Regions from separate parts of the Homo sapiens genome. Here regions 2, 3, 4 and 5 are each linked to region 1. The links are contacts of gene promoters, found by promoter capture Hi-C in human tissues and cell types (Jung and others, 2019). All regions are on one chromosome and are shown on one strand. Each heading gives the region's core, a stretch centred on a gene start or on the middle of the fragment in contact. The rest is flanking DNA. Distances are from core to core; before and after follow the strand shown. Region 1 holds the start of APOBEC3B (apolipoprotein B mRNA editing enzyme catalytic subunit 3B). Region 2 holds the start of TAB1 (TGF-beta activated kinase 1 (MAP3K7) binding protein 1). Region 3 overlaps SYNGR1 (synaptogyrin 1). Region 4 holds the start of PDGFB (platelet derived growth factor subunit B). Region 5 overlaps GTPBP1 (GTP binding protein 1).

The links. The method cuts DNA at HindIII sites, captures the fragments that hold promoters and counts their contacts. A contact is called where the count stands out against the background at its distance.
Region 2: the fragment with the promoter of TAB1 here is called in contact with the fragment with the promoter of APOBEC3B in region 1 in 4 of the 25 tissues and cell types used here (adrenal gland, aorta, bladder and 1 more).
Region 3: a contact is called between a fragment that was not itself captured here and the fragment with the promoter of APOBEC3B in region 1, in 5 of the 25 tissues and cell types used here (adrenal gland, lymphoblastoid cells, mesenchymal stem cells and 2 more).
Region 4: the fragment with the promoter of PDGFB here is called in contact with the fragment with the promoter of APOBEC3B in region 1 in 1 of the 25 tissues and cell types used here (liver).
Region 5: a contact is called between a fragment that was not itself captured here and the fragment with the promoter of APOBEC3B in region 1, in 2 of the 25 tissues and cell types used here (liver and spleen).

Annotation. Positions count from the first base shown.
Region 1 is chr22:38,981,042-38,983,896 of GRCh38, reverse strand. APOBEC3B (apolipoprotein B mRNA editing enzyme catalytic subunit 3B) reads right to left here and starts at 1,550. Exons shown (of 8, transcript NM_004900.5): 1 at 1,427-1,550. The coding sequence starts at 1,443. RefSeq lists a silencer at 1,367-1,416. The HindIII fragment of the contact is 18,696 bases long and covers 1-2,855 here.
Region 2 is chr22:39,398,410-39,401,264 of GRCh38, reverse strand. TAB1 (TGF-beta activated kinase 1 (MAP3K7) binding protein 1) reads right to left here and starts at 1,485. Exons shown (of 11, transcript NM_006116.3): 1 at 1,430-1,485. The coding sequence starts at 1,462. RefSeq lists a silencer at 1,127-1,266 and an enhancer at 1,427-1,546. The HindIII fragment of the contact is 8,049 bases long and covers 1-2,855 here.
Region 3 is chr22:39,352,758-39,355,612 of GRCh38, reverse strand. The region is part of intron 1 of SYNGR1 (synaptogyrin 1); the gene reads right to left. Among named protein-coding and RNA genes, the nearest start is that of SYNGR1, 4.2 kb to the right of the region's middle. The HindIII fragment of the contact is 5,350 bases long and covers 1-2,855 here.
Region 4 is chr22:39,243,732-39,246,586 of GRCh38, reverse strand. It overlaps PDGFB (platelet derived growth factor subunit B), which reads left to right and starts at 1,605. Exons shown (of 7, transcript NM_002608.4): 1 at 1,605-2,686. The coding sequence starts at 2,624. The HindIII fragment of the contact is 11,810 bases long and covers 1-2,855 here.
Region 5 is chr22:38,723,976-38,726,830 of GRCh38, reverse strand. GTPBP1 (GTP binding protein 1) reads right to left here. Exons shown (of 12, transcript NM_004286.5): 6 at 2,420-2,534; 7 at 681-825; 8 at 391-573. Among named protein-coding and RNA genes, the nearest start is that of GTPBP1, 19 kb to the right of the region's middle. The HindIII fragment of the contact is 3,648 bases long and covers 1-2,855 here.

The sequences.
Region 1 (2,855 bases), core at 301-2,800:
TGCTGGCAGGCGGGCTGGGGTGATCTCTCCCAGCTCGGGTCCAACTCTGGCCTTTCCAGGGGTACATTCCCCACCCTCCTAGTATTTCTGCCAACCCACTCCCCAACCCATTAGGAGAATGCAAAAGAGAATAAAACCCTTCACCCCTAAAAAATAGCTTTTAACCTTTCAGCTCAATTCCTTCCTGATGTTTCACTCTGCGTGTTAACATTATTTTAAAATCATGGTAGAACTGAATTCTGAGGCCCAGGCCACTCTTCTAAGTGCTGAGCGGGTGTGAGCTCACGTGAGGCTACCCTAGGCCTGCAGGGGCCATTCCCATCTTACAGAGGAGATGCCAGAGGCACAGAGAGGCGGGGTAACCTGCCGAGGCCACAGAGCTGGGGACGGATGGAGCAGGGGCCCCTTTCCAGGCCAGCCCTGTCCAGCCTCTGCATCACGGATCCTGTAGGAGAAAGCTGTTGGGGACTGGGCTCTCTTTTCACTAAATTTTAAAATCAGAGCATTTCTCCTCATCATTGCACTTTTTTCCCACATTCTCACATTCCATGTTACTGATCATGTTCTTTCTTTTTTTTTTTGATGAAGTCTCACTCTGTCGCCCAGGCTGGAGTGCAGTGGCATGATCTCAGCTCACTGCAACCTCCACCTCCCAGGTTCAAGCAATTCTCCTGCCTAAACCTCCTGAGTATCTGGGACTAGAGATGCGCCACCATGCCTGGCTAATTTTTGTATGTTTTTTAGTAGAGACGGGGTTTCACCATATGGGCCAGGTTGGTCTCAAACTCCCGACCTCATGATCCGCCCGCCTTGGCCTCCCAAAGTGTTGGGATTACAAGTGTGAGCCACCACGCTCAACCACTGGTCATGTTCTAAAAGATGAAGAGTGACCTTGGAGTGGAACCTGTCTGGGGACATCTGCTCACCATGGAGTCATCCTTGGATGACACGATTTATCATGTGCTTCAGAGACCATTCCTACCCCCGCACCCTCTCCTAAGACTTTGTATTTAAGCAAAGTAATTCTTACAGAAATTTCATCAAAACACTGAGAACAAAAATGCCTGATTGCTCCAATTACCCTTTGGTTCAATTCTCCCAGTTTCTGAGCTCAGGAGTGGCAGGAAGCACACAGAGGGAGCACCCTCCCAGGGCGGGGAGCACCAGTCCGGGCATGACTTTAAGGGAGAGTCTCAGCACGGGGCCTGGGCTGGTGCAGGTAGGGGAGGCAGCCCATTCAGAAGCAGCAGTGGGGTGACCACACAGCAGGACAAAGAGCCTGACTGGGATTCGTGTGGCAGGGGAGCCAGAGGGGAGGGAGCCCAGGGCTGGGGCAGGGGCGGGGGGAGGCCAGGGTTGAGGCCCAGCAGGACCACCAGGCAGGAAGGGGCAGGAGGGGCCCAGCAGGCAGAGTGGGCAGCGGTACCTGATCTGTGGATTCATGTTCAGCCTCTTAGATACGCTTGTCCCTGTCCCGCTCTTTTTTTGAAGCTCTGTGGTTTCACTTCCTGCTTACAGCGTCCTTGCAGTTGGACAGCCCTCCTTAAAGTGACCTCCCAGGGCCTTATGAGTCATGGCCCCTCCCCATTCCTGCTCAGGCATTGGTGTGGGAGGCCCCGGGGTGCTTCATGTTTCTCTGGCTCTGGCTCTGGCTCTGGTTTTCCCCGGACCCTTCCCGCTGGCAGAGGAACCTCCAATAAAGACAGGCTGCTCTGTCTTTATCTGTCCTGGGCAGGACCCAACGGAATTGCAAAGAGAAAGAGAAAGGCATTGCAGCCTGAGCCTGGGAGGCGGGTCCAGACCCAGCTGAGAGAGGGGCAGGTGCCCCGTTGCCTGGTGGTTGGGCAGGCTGGAGCCCCCTCTCCACCACCCCCTCCCCAGCCCTAATGTGTGCCCAGAGCTTTGAGCAGCACCACCCTGTTGAGTGAGGGGAGGTTTTGAGACTCCAGTGGGGAAGGAAGTGTGGACTCCGCACAGCACAAGGGAAGGCTTAGGTGTGCCTCGAGTTCCCAGCTGTGTGCTGGGTCCATGGCATGCGTCCCCTCTTCCAACCTCCCAGCTTCCAGAAGGTGGGGGGCAGGTCAGCCCCTCAGAGGGACTGCGATGTCTGCGACACCAAGGAAGGGAGAAGGGTGTCTATAAACAGGCTCACTGCCCAGGGACCTCTCAAGGGGTTCTTTGTGGGCCAAGAAAACGGGAAACACATACACACACAGCTTTCTGATTATTTAAGTCCATCTAAGCATATTTTGGAGGAATGAATGTACATTGAAATAATCTTCCTAAATAGATTCCTTTAAGGGGAGTTTGTTCCAGCTGGAGAAGTTGTGCTCTCTGTAGAGGCTCTGAACTCCTCTGGCTACGACGACGGGAATGCAGACAGGGAGGAGGATGCGTGGGTGGTAGGGGGAGCAGCAGCGCCCCTACCTGCACAGAAGCTTGTCCAACCTCTGCACAAAGCGGACTCCCAGTGGTTGTTTTTGGAAGGTGAGTTTTCTTTTCTTTCTTTTTTTTTTTTTAAATCTTCCCCAGTATAAATCTTTTAATTTAAAAGTAAATTTTATTGTCGAAAATGCAAACTTGGGGAGGGCAGAAAGATCACACACAGGGCTGTCACTTCACACCTGGGGGGTTGCTGGGAGCCGTCCAGAAGCGCTCCTCACTTCCCAGACGGTGCGGGGGCCGTCCAGAGGCGCTCCTCACTTCCCAGACGGTGCGGGGGCTGGGCAGAGGCGCTCCTTACTTCCCAGACGGTGGGACAGCCAGGCAGAGGCGCTCCTCTGGAAGGTGAAGTTTTCTGTTGCCGTCAGAAAGAGATGGACAAAGGATAAGACCATCGGTGGAAAATAAACAGT
Region 2 (2,855 bases), core at 236-2,735, 420 kb before region 1:
TAATTTCAAGGCTCTGGTTCCAGGTTATCCCTGAGCCAATGTCTACTCACCTCTGTGACGCCAAGGGCGAGCACTGGACCTGGCTACAAACCTTTACTCATCCTTTCACAAATGTATTTATTGAGTGCCCAGCACATGGTGATAGATAATAGAGACACAGCGGTAAACAAGAGATCACAGGTCCCTGTCCTCAAGGAGTTTACTTTCGTTTTTTTTTTTTTTTTTTTTTTGAGACACAGTCTCGCTCTGTCGCTCCAGGCTGGAGTGCAGTGGCCCGATCTTGGCTCGCTGCAAGCTCCGCCTCCTGTGTTCAAGCTAATTCTCCTGCCTCAGCCTCCCGAATAGTTGGGACTACAGGCGCCCCCACCACGCTCGGCTAATTTTTGTATTTTTAGTAAAGACGGGGTTTCACCATGTTGGCCAGGATGGTCTTGATCTCCTGACCTCGTGATCCACCCGCCTCAGCCTCCCATAGTTCTGGGATTACAGGCATGAGCCACCGCGCCCGGCGGAGTTTACTTTCTAGTACAGGAGGCAGACAAGTCCATAGACAATTCTAACAGTGCCATGCATAGGAAGGACCCAGGAGGCCAGCACCCTACCCTGGTAGGTCAGAGTAGTCCATGGTGCCAACATGTGTGTGCATCTATGTGCACATACGCGTCAGAGGACGCAGGGCCTGGAAGACAGCGCCAAACCCATGAGGGTCCAGACCGGGGGTAGGGATGAGTCTGAAGACAATTCTTCCACTCAGCGCTCTCGCCTTAGGAGAAGGAAACTGAGGCTGAGGGAGACACAGTCAGAGCCAGGACCAGAACCCAGTGACAGCTACCACTGGTCATTCCTTTAGTACAGCCCAGGGGTTAAGGGGGTTTCTGGAATCACACTGCCTGATTTTAATCCTGCCTCAATACGTACCATTTGTGTGGCCTTAGGCAAACGACCACCTCAGTGTCTCAGTCTGTCAAATAGGAATAACAGTAGCACCTATCTCAGGGGGCTGCTACGAAAATGAAACTGACAAATGTAAAGCAATTAACACAACGCCGGGGATGCAGTAAGCGGTACACTGTGGATGCTGCTGTTATTATCATTGCACGTCTGCTCGGTGTCGCAGTGGGCTCGAGACTCGGATAGCTCTGCTGCCGCCCGCCGTGTTCCCTTCTGGCTCCAGGACGCTCCCGCCCTCGACGCCCGGCAGCAGCAGCCCACAGCCCCGGCGCCCTTGACCCGGGGGCCGGGCCCGCCGCGCACACACGCCCTGGCCTCGGGAACGAGGGGGCCAGCCCGAGGAGAGGAGAAGGTGGCTGACACACCCCACCACGGAGAGGGTGGCTGTCCAAACTCGGAGAAGGAGCCGTTCCTGCACCCGACAGCACCCCCGCCCAGGCTCCCAACCCCAAGCCCAGAGAGCGGGCCTGTTCCTCACACTCTGCAGCAAGCTCCTCCTCTGCGCCGCCATCTTGGAGGAACCCCTGCGGGAGCGCCCGCCTCCCCGCAGAGCAGCGAGTGGGGCGGCTAGAGCGGCCCGAAGGAGGCGAGGATGACCGCGCTGCCGGGGAGCATGCGCCCAGCGCCACCCCACGCCCGAAGAGGGATGGGGGTCGTAGCGGACCGTGTGCGCAGGCGCGCTCTTGCACGTTTTGTTGTTGTTGTTGTTGTTGTTGTTTTGTTTTGTCTTTTCCTCGGGGCCGATTGCTCCTCGCCCATCTTTATTATTTTTTGAGATAGGGTCTCACTCTGTCACCCAGGCTGGAGTGCAGTGGCGCGATCACAGCTCCCTGCAACCTCTGCCTTCCGGCCTCAAGCGATTCTCCTTCCTCAGCTTCCCGAGTAGCTGGGATTACAGGTGCCCGCCTCTCCTGCCCCAGCCTCCGGAGTAGCCGGGACTACAGGCATGAGCCACCACGCCCGGCTAATTTTTGTATTTTTAGTAGAAACGGGGTTTCGCCATGTTGGCCAGGCTGGTCTTGAACTCCTGAGGGTTCTTTGTGAACACAGTTGGTAAGGGGAGGACAATTCATTCACTCAGCAAATGCTACCTAGGTGACCCTGCTTGGCTCTATAGTGGGTTCTGCAGCGAGCAGGACAGGCCTTCAAAAAGCTAACATTTTATTTTATTTTATTTCATTTCATTTTATTATTATTTTATGTTATGTTATGTTATGTTATTTTTGAGACGGAGGCTTGCTCTGTCGCCCAGGCTGGAATGCAGTGGCGTGATCTGGACTCACTGCAACCTCTGCCTCCCGGGTTGAAGCGATTCTCCTGCCTCAGCCTCCCGAGTAGCTGGGGTTACAGGCGCCCGCCACCACGCCCAGCTAATCTTTTACATTTTTTGTAGAGACGGAGTACCGCTATGTTGGCCAGGCTGGTCTCAAACTCCTGGCCTAAAACGATTCTTCTGCCTGGGCCTCCCAAAGTGCTGGGATTACAAGTGTGAGCCACCCCGCCCAACCTAAAATGTTAACATTTTAATTGGAGAGGACAACATTTATGTATATAAGACATTCTGCCGGGGGCAGGCGCGGTGGCTCATGCCTGTAATCCCAGCACTTTGGGAGGCCGAGGCCGGTGGATCACCTGAGGTCAGGAGTTCGAGATCAGTCCAGCCAACATGGTGAAACCCCATCTCTACTAAAACTACAAAAAATTAGCCAGGCATGGTGGTGCACGCCTGTAATCCCAGCTACTTGGGAGGCTGAAGCAGGAGAATCACGAACCTGGGAGGTGGAGGTTGCAGTGAGTGAGCTGAGATCACTCCACTGCACTCCAACCTGGGCAACAGAGTGAGACTCTGTCTTAAAAAAAAAAAAAAAAAAAGCACACTTGTCACGGGAGCCCACTGTGGCTTG
Region 3 (2,855 bases), core at 195-2,694, 370 kb before region 1:
CTGCTCCTGATGCCCTAGGCTTTCTCAGGCTCTTGAGGCCGCCCCTGGGCTGTCCCTGGACATGAGGAAGTGCCCAAAACACAGCAGAAATCTATCACCTCCCAGCGGTCTCCTTGCAGCTGACCCTGTCCTAGACCTGAGAGAGAAGAAGCGGCGGAGCGGCCGGCCACAGGAGGTGAAGAGGTGAGAAAGACTCCAGGGTGGTCAGCAATAAATAACAAACAAGGGCCGTGGGCCCACCTTCCTGTCTAGGTGACAGGGCTGTGCCCGGTACTGGGAGAGGACAGGCTGGACGTGACCACGCATTTCCAGCCACAGAGCCCTCTCCAAACCAAGCTTCCACAGGAGCTTCCGAAATACCCTTGACCCTCTCTCCAGCTTCCCACTGCCCTCAGAGGAAGTCCAGCTTGTGAGTCTGTCATCCAAGCCTCTCCTGGGCCACCCCTTGGGAATTCCTTCTTGTAGTGACCCGAGCCTCTGGGACAGTGCTTCCCACTCAATCCTGTTCTCGTTATTGGAGCGAGAGTGCCTTGGGGTGGCACTGAGCACTCAGCTGGCACTGAGCAGGGGACTTGTGGAATGAACAAATGAACATCAGAACTGGCCAGAGGTTCTGTCTCTACCCTGGACCCTCTTCCCCAACAACCGCTGGTCCCAGAATTTTCCTGTGGCCCCATGGCTGGCACATGGCAAGTTGGTTGGGGGAGGCAAGGGGTCTTATCTTGAAACTGCTGTGTTTACAAAAAACGTTCAGCTTTTTTTTTTTTTTATTTGAGACAGAGTTTTGCTTTTGTTGCCCAGGCTGGAGTGCAGTGGTGTGATCTCAGCTAACTGCAACCTCCGCCTCCCGGGTTCAAGCGATTCTCCTGCCTCAGCCTCCTGAGTAGCTGGGATAACAGGCGACCGCCACCACGCTCAGCTAATTTTTGTATTTTAGTAGAGATGGGGTTTCACCATGTTGGCCAGGATGGTCTCGAACTCCTGACCTCAAGTGATCCACCCGCCTTGGCCTCCCAAAGTGCTGGGATTATAGGCGTGAGCCACCTCACCTGGCCAAGTTCAGCTTTTTTATTCAGTGTTCACTTGGGATGATGGGGGGTGGAGTGGAGGGGGTGAATAAAACCAGGGGTATGAAGCTGCCCCCCTCAGGCCACCCCTTGGTGCCATGGATATCCAGGCAGAGAACCCACAGGGAGTACACAGAATGTGGAGCCCAGCAGTCCGGGTTCAAACCAAGTCTCTGACAAGCCCAGGCCTTGAGCTAGCACAAGTCACTTCTCCAGGCTGAGCCTTAATTCTGTCATTTGTAAAACGGGGGGAAGATACCCACCCCACTTACAGAACCATGTGGTATTATGGCCAAAGCCCTTAAAAAATGAACCCTGAAAATGGCAACATTTCAAACATTTTATCATTTTCATTTTGTCAAAGTAGAGAATTAAAGAAACATTGACTGGGCACGGTGGCTCACACCTGTAATCCCAGCACTTTGGGAGGCTGAGGCGGGTGGATCACTAGGTCAGGAGTTTGAGACCAGCCTGGCCAAGATGGTGAAACCCCGTCTCTACTAAAAATTTAAAAAGTAGCTGGGCATGGTGGTGGGTGCCTGTAATCCCAGCTATTTGGGAGGCTGAGGCAGGAGAATCACTTGAAACCAGGAGGCAGAGGTTGCAGTGAGCCAAGATCGCGCCACTGCACTCTAGCCTGGAGACAGAGCGAGACTCCATCTCAAAAACAAAAAACAAACAAACAAAAAACTCATCTGCCAGCACTGATATTCATTCCCTATAGTCCATCTTAGCCCCCTGCAAAAAAGAATATAAACTCCAAATAAAAGGTGGTCCTTTCTATTAAATCAGTTTAGCTTCTTGCTGTAACTCCTTTTTTTCCCATCTGGCTTTAGAACAAAGAAATGAGTCACTGACAGGCGGCAGTCACCGCGCAACAGATCAGGCACTTCTGACCCAGCCCAGCCCAGTTCGGGTGGGAAGACTGAGGCACAGAGGGTGGGGAGGGGACACTTACTGAAGGTCACAGCTGTGGCCTGGGGGTGCCAGGAGTGGCAGCTGATCTGCCACTGGGGCGATGACACCAAGAGGTGAGAAAGCCTTAGTCAAGAGACAAGCCATGCCGGATGCAGTGGCCCACGCCTCGCCTCATCGTCCCAGCTGCTCACAAGGCTGAGGTGGGAGGATCACTTGAGTCCAGGAGTCTGAGACCAGCCTGGGCAACACAGCAAGATCCTGTCTCTAAAAAAATAAAAAAGAGACAAGCCAGGTCTTGGAGGCCCTGCTTCTGTGCAGGCTGACCCAGGGGCTCAGAGGGCTTGGGTTCCAGGGTGGGTCCAGGTTGGTGAGGCCCTGAAGCTTACATGATTTGGGGGCCCTCTTTTGGAAAAGCAACAGAAAAAAAAATCTTTCTTTTACAAATTTTACAAAAATCCCAGGTCCAGGCCGGGTGCGGTGGCTCACGCCTGTAATCCCAGCACGTTGGGAGGCCAAGGCAGGTGGATCACCTGAGGTCAGGAGTTCGAGACCAGCCTGGCTAACATGGTGAAACCCCATCTCTACTAAAAATACAAAAATTAGCTGGGCGTGGTGGTGTGTGCCTGTAGTCCCAGCTACTTGGGAGGCCGAGGCAGTAGAGTTGCTTGAACCTGGGAGGCGGAGGTTGCAATGAGCCGAGATGGCACCATTGTACTCCAGCCTGGGCAACAGAGCAAGACTCCATCTCAAAAAAAGAAAAAAAACAATCACAGGTTCATGTGCACATGCTGTTAGGGCCCCTCCAGGGCTGTGGTAGGGGTCTGGGTTGTCCAGGAGTCCTGGACAGGGTGACAAATTGTCCCTGTTTGT
Region 4 (2,855 bases), core at 356-2,855, 260 kb before region 1:
TACGTATACACCCATAAGCCCATCACCACAATCAAAAATGACAAACATTTCCATCACCACTAAAATTTTGCCATGCCTCTCTGTTCTCTCTCACTCCTTCCCATTATAGATTTATTTTTATTTCTTTAGAGATAGGGTCTTGCTCTGTTGCCCAGGCTGGAGTGCAGTGGCACAGTCACAACTCACTGCAGCCTCAAACTCCTGGGCTCAAAACGATCCACAGTCTCCTGAGTAGCTGGGACTACAGGAGCTTGTTACCACACCCAGCTCCAGTTTATAAATTCATCTCCAGTTTATAAAGGAGGAAACCGAGGTACTGAGAGGTTAAAAAACCTTCCTGCAGACACTTGTCCAGCAAGTGGCCACTCCAGGATTTGGACCAAGGTGATGTGTCTTCAGGCTGTGTCTCTGCCACTGTGCCACGCTGCTGGGTGGTAGGCAGCAGTGGGTGGGTGCCTGCAGTGGTCTGTAAAGACCACCTGAGATGTCCTTCCTCCTCTGTTCCACCCTGTCCAGGTCCAAGAAGACAGTCTATGAAGAGAGAGCAGGTGTGACTCTCTCAGTGTGCTCCTCTGTGAGAAGCAGGCTGACATCCCAAAGGGAAGGGCGGATAACAGAGACAGTGCAAGCGGAGGAGATGAGGGTGCCTCAAAGCCGGGAGGCTGGGTGATGCAGGAGCCTGCGTGTCCCGAGGGGGGTGCTGGGCCCAGTGTGAGTACGTGTGACTGTGACTGAGACAGTGTGACTGCTGAAGGCAGGGACACAGCAGCTCCCTGACTGGGGGCAGAAGGCGTTAACTGTGTGAAGGCTGGTTGTGGGTGGGTGGGCTCTGGGCCTCGAACCCGGGGGCTGAGGGAGATAGTAAACAGCAGGGTGACTGACGGGAAGATCATGTTGGTAGCCCTGCGAAGATGCTGCAGGGCTGTGGGGGTTTGTGTGACTTTGCAGTTCAACAAATTCAAATTCAGCCAACGCTGGCAGGGCCTGTTGTGCCAGGCAACCAGCTAGGAGGAGGAGACTCGGACCCAGCTTGCAGCTGAAGGGCGCTGGCTGCCGGGTTCTGTGGGTTCACCTTGCGGTGTCTTCCCTTGCTAACACTGAGTCCTTACAATAGCCCCATCTCCAGGTTGAGGCTAGATGGAGGGGACAGAGGGAAGTGACTTGCCCAAGGTGACCCAAGCTCCCGAGTGCCAGGGCAGGATCTGAATTCAGGCTCTCAGACTGCAGAGCCTGAGTCCCTCCCTGCCATGCCTGTGCCAGGGTGGAAATGTCTGGTCCTGGAGGGGAGCGTGGACTCCTGGCCTTGGCTCTGGAGACATCCCCCTAGACCACGTGGGCTCCTAACCTGTCCATGGTCACTGTGCTGAGGGGCGGGACGGTGGGTCACCCCTAGTTCTTTTTTCCCCAGGGCCAGATTCATGGACTGAAGGGTTGCTCGGCTCTCAGAGACCCCCTAAGCGCCCCGCCCTGGCCCCAAGCCCTCCCCCAGCTCCCGCGTCCCCCCCCTCCTGGCGCTGACTCCGGGCCAGAAGAGGAAAGGCTGTCTCCACCCACCTCTCGCACTCTCCCTTCTCCTTTATAAAGGCCGGAACAGCTGAAAGGGTGGCAACTTCTCCTCCTGCAGCCGGGAGCGGCCTGCCTGCCTCCCTGCGCACCCGCAGCCTCCCCCGCTGCCTCCCTAGGGCTCCCCTCCGGCCGCCAGCGCCCATTTTTCATTCCCTAGATAGAGATACTTTGCGCGCACACACATACATACGCGCGCAAAAAGGAAAAAAAAAAAAAAAAGCCCACCCTCCAGCCTCGCTGCAAAGAGAAAACCGGAGCAGCCGCAGCTCGCAGCTCGCAGCTCGCAGCCCGCAGCCCGCAGAGGACGCCCAGAGCGGCGAGCGGGCGGGCAGACGGACCGACGGACTCGCGCCGCGTCCACCTGTCGGCCGGGCCCAGCCGAGCGCGCAGCGGGCACGCCGCGCGCGCGGAGCAGCCGTGCCCGCCGCCCGGGCCCCGCGCCAGGGCGCACACGCTCCCGCCCCCCTACCCGGCCCGGGCGGGAGTTTGCACCTCTCCCTGCCCGGGTGCTCGAGCTGCCGTTGCAAAGCCAACTTTGGAAAAAGTTTTTTGGGGGAGACTTGGGCCTTGAGGTGCCCAGCTCCGCGCTTTCCGATTTTGGGGGCCTTTCCAGAAAATGTTGCAAAAAAGCTAAGCCGGCGGGCAGAGGAAAACGCCTGTAGCCGGCGAGTGAAGACGAACCATCGACTGCCGTGTTCCTTTTCCTCTTGGAGGTTGGAGTCCCCTGGGCGCCCCCACACGGCTAGACGCCTCGGCTGGTTCGCGACGCAGCCCCCCGGCCGTGGATGCTCACTCGGGCTCGGGATCCGCCCAGGTAGCGGCCTCGGACCCAGGTCCTGCGCCCAGGTCCTCCCCTGCCCCCCAGCGACGGAGCCGGGGCCGGGGGCGGCGGCGCCCGGGGGCCATGCGGGTGAGCCGCGGCTGCAGAGGCCTGAGCGCCTGATCGCCGCGGACCCGAGCCGAGCCCACCCCCCTCCCCAGCCCCCCACCCTGGCCGCGGGGGCGGCGCGCTCGATCTACGCGTCCGGGGCCCCGCGGGGCCGGGCCCGGAGTCGGCATGAATCGCTGCTGGGCGCTCTTCCTGTCTCTCTGCTGCTACCTGCGTCTGGTCAGCGCCGAGGTGAGTTGCCACGGCGGCTGGGGCTGGTTCTTCATTCATTACCTTCGCCCCCCCCTTCTGACCGCCCCCTCCTCTCCCTGCAGTGAACTTTGGACCCTTGCAGCCCGCGAGCCTGACGCCGGGCGCTGGGTGACCTCTTCGGGCTGGGAGCGAGGTCCGGGGGTGACAG
Region 5 (2,855 bases), core at 154-2,653, 260 kb after region 1:
CCTGAACTACAACCCACCCCAAACCCCAGGAGATAGAAGGCTGAATGGGAAGAGGATGTGGCGCAGATCCCAATGGTCCTATGTAGAAGGATCCTTGCACAGCAGGGATACTCCTATTTGACCTCACCACTGAGCTCAGGCCACCCTGCTCAGGCACCAGAGGGAGGAACGGAGCTTAGAAGGAGGCATTCCTCGCTCTAGCACTTACAAGCTGTGTGTCTTGGGCAAGTCCCTGGGCTCTGAGCCTCAGTTTCCTCATCTGTAAAAATGAAGCCAGTAATCCCGACCTTGCAGAGCAGCCATGAGGACTAGAGTGGGTGAGCAGGGCATCTGGCCAAGAGCCTAGCATGATGGAGTCTGAGGGGAGCGTTCAGTATCATCGCTACTCACCTTCTTCAGCGCAAAGGATGCTGTCTGGCCACCCCGCACCTCCTTGACAGGCATGCGCTTGCGATGGATGGATTTGACAGCAATGGACAGGAAGTTACCCAAGGGGTCTGGGCCCAGCAGCAGCGTGTCATTCAGCTTGATCAGGCCTCTCAGTGTTGTCCCCGAAACCACTGTCCCCACACCCTGCCAAGGAGAAGACCCTGGCCTCATAAGTGCATCCCCAGCACAGACCCACCCCCTGATGCCACTGTAGGAAGTGCCCACCCAGCTACCCGCCCAGAGCCACTTACCGGGACGGAGTAGGTGTCATCAATCTGAAACTCAGCAGGCTCCTCCTCCCTGTAGCTGGTGCGGGGGGAGAGGAGGTTGAGGAACATCTTCAGCAGATCTAGGTTCTCGCCTGTAACGTTGGAGATCTGGAATATCGGGCACATCCTAAGCAGAGGGAGAAGAGGAAGGAAAAAAGGAGAGAGGCACTCAGGAGACCAGGTCCTGCCCTGACACAGACCAGGGGCAGCAACAGGGCTCGAGGAGCAGATGCCACTATTCATGACTCCACCTCTCCCTCACCTGCCTCCAAGGGCTTGACCTCTTTGCCCTGACCTAGCAAGCTCCTGGCCAGCCCTACTCTGAGGCCTTCTTCTCTCACTCAGTTCTGTCTCTGACACCTGTCCTCTCCTCTCTGTCCTCCACCACTGCCCTAGTTTGGAACCTCATGACTGCTTCTTCCTAAAACACACGCATGCTTGCTTAAAATCCTTAACCGCCTTTCCACCACAGAGAAGATACCCCAAATCCCTCTCCCAACACTCACAGCCCTTTGGCTTGGGCTTGTAGCCATCTCTGCAGATTCACTTCTCGCAAATTCCTATATTCCAGCCACACCAGAGAACTCTCCCTTCTCCTAAAACTTTGGAACTTTTCTGCCCTTGTGGATTTGCTCACTCTGACCTTCCTTCCTGAATTCTTTCCCTTTTATGCAACTACCAGGCCCTCTCACCCTTCAGAGCTCATCTCAAATACCACTTCTTCCATGAAATCCTTCCTGGGTGGACACTCTTGACTCCTCTGAGTTCCTGGAGAGCTTTTTCTCTATTACACATGACTGCATCTGATTTTTCATCAGAGTCCTGTAAATGGCCTCTATTGCTCCTATTCAGGGTGACTGAATTAAAATCCTTGAGATCACGAATTACACATTCCCCACAGCTCCTAGAATAGTGCCTGCACAGAATAGGCACTCAAGAATATCAACAAGCTCAAATGGGGCTGTCTGAAATGTGCCCCCTCTGCAGGCTAACTGATGGTACTGAAGATCACATCAGGGCAGAGGCATAGGCAAAAAGCCAGGCTGCTCTGGGCCTGGCGCTATAGACCAAGCTCTGGGCAAACAGGCAGAGTTAGTAGAGTTCACCATTATCGAGAGAGCATCTCTCACCAAGGAGCTGAACACCTTGAGGACAAGGATTGTGTTCAATTCAACTCTGAATCCTCAACATCTAGATGAAGAGTCTCGCAGAACAAACATCCAATAAATATTTATGGAATGAAAGAATACATTAATGAGTAAATGCCAAAACTGATCTGATTAGTGAGCTTTTGAGGAACAACAGTATAAAAAACTGAGTTACAAAAATGGCTGTGTATTTACCATCCATCAGCCAGGCAGGGCATTAAGTGCTCTACATACTTCATTTCCAACATTCACGGGAGCCCTACAGGGAAGGGAATGTTATTCCCATTTCACAGATAAGGACACTGAAGTCTCAGCCGGGATGCCAACCCCAGGAATGCCAGCACCTCACAATCTGGGTTACGTGATATTACCCCTGGGCAACAATGCTGGCTTGGGAGACCCTGCGCTAAGATTGGAAGCTTCTATTTCCTCCGATCTCTGAATAGGGAGAGGTGTTGATGTGGTGTTTTCATGAGACCTTATGCCCAAACTGACAGCCATTCCAGGCCCATCACTCACTGTGGTCCTGCCTGCAAGGGTGCCTGTCTGAAGTGTGCGCTCCCCACGCGTTACCTTTCAGAGCTGAAGTTGGAGGCTGTGACAATCACATCATCTTTGCTCTGCACCAGCACGGGGATCTTCCGGCAGCCTGGTGACTTCAGCAGGCGCTGTAACAGCTTCAGGGTTTCTTAAAGGGTGCAATGGAACAGAATTAGGGGGACACAGCCTTCTCTTTGGCCAGGCTTTAAGAGCAAGATGGGTCCACTCATTACTGATGCAAGCAGGAGACAGACAGATAGATGGACCAGTGTTAAATGCCACAATGCCTGGAGAAGCAAAAAGGAGGATCAAAACTTTGGGTGCTGCTAGAGTAAGAAAAGCACAGATGGGGCCTCTTTTCTAGGGTTCTGCGTCTGAAACCTGGCAGATTTCTCTTGTGTCTAGACGACCTGCCTCCTGTAAGCATGTGACTTGAGGGTCCCCAAGAAAAACAATTCACTTCACACTT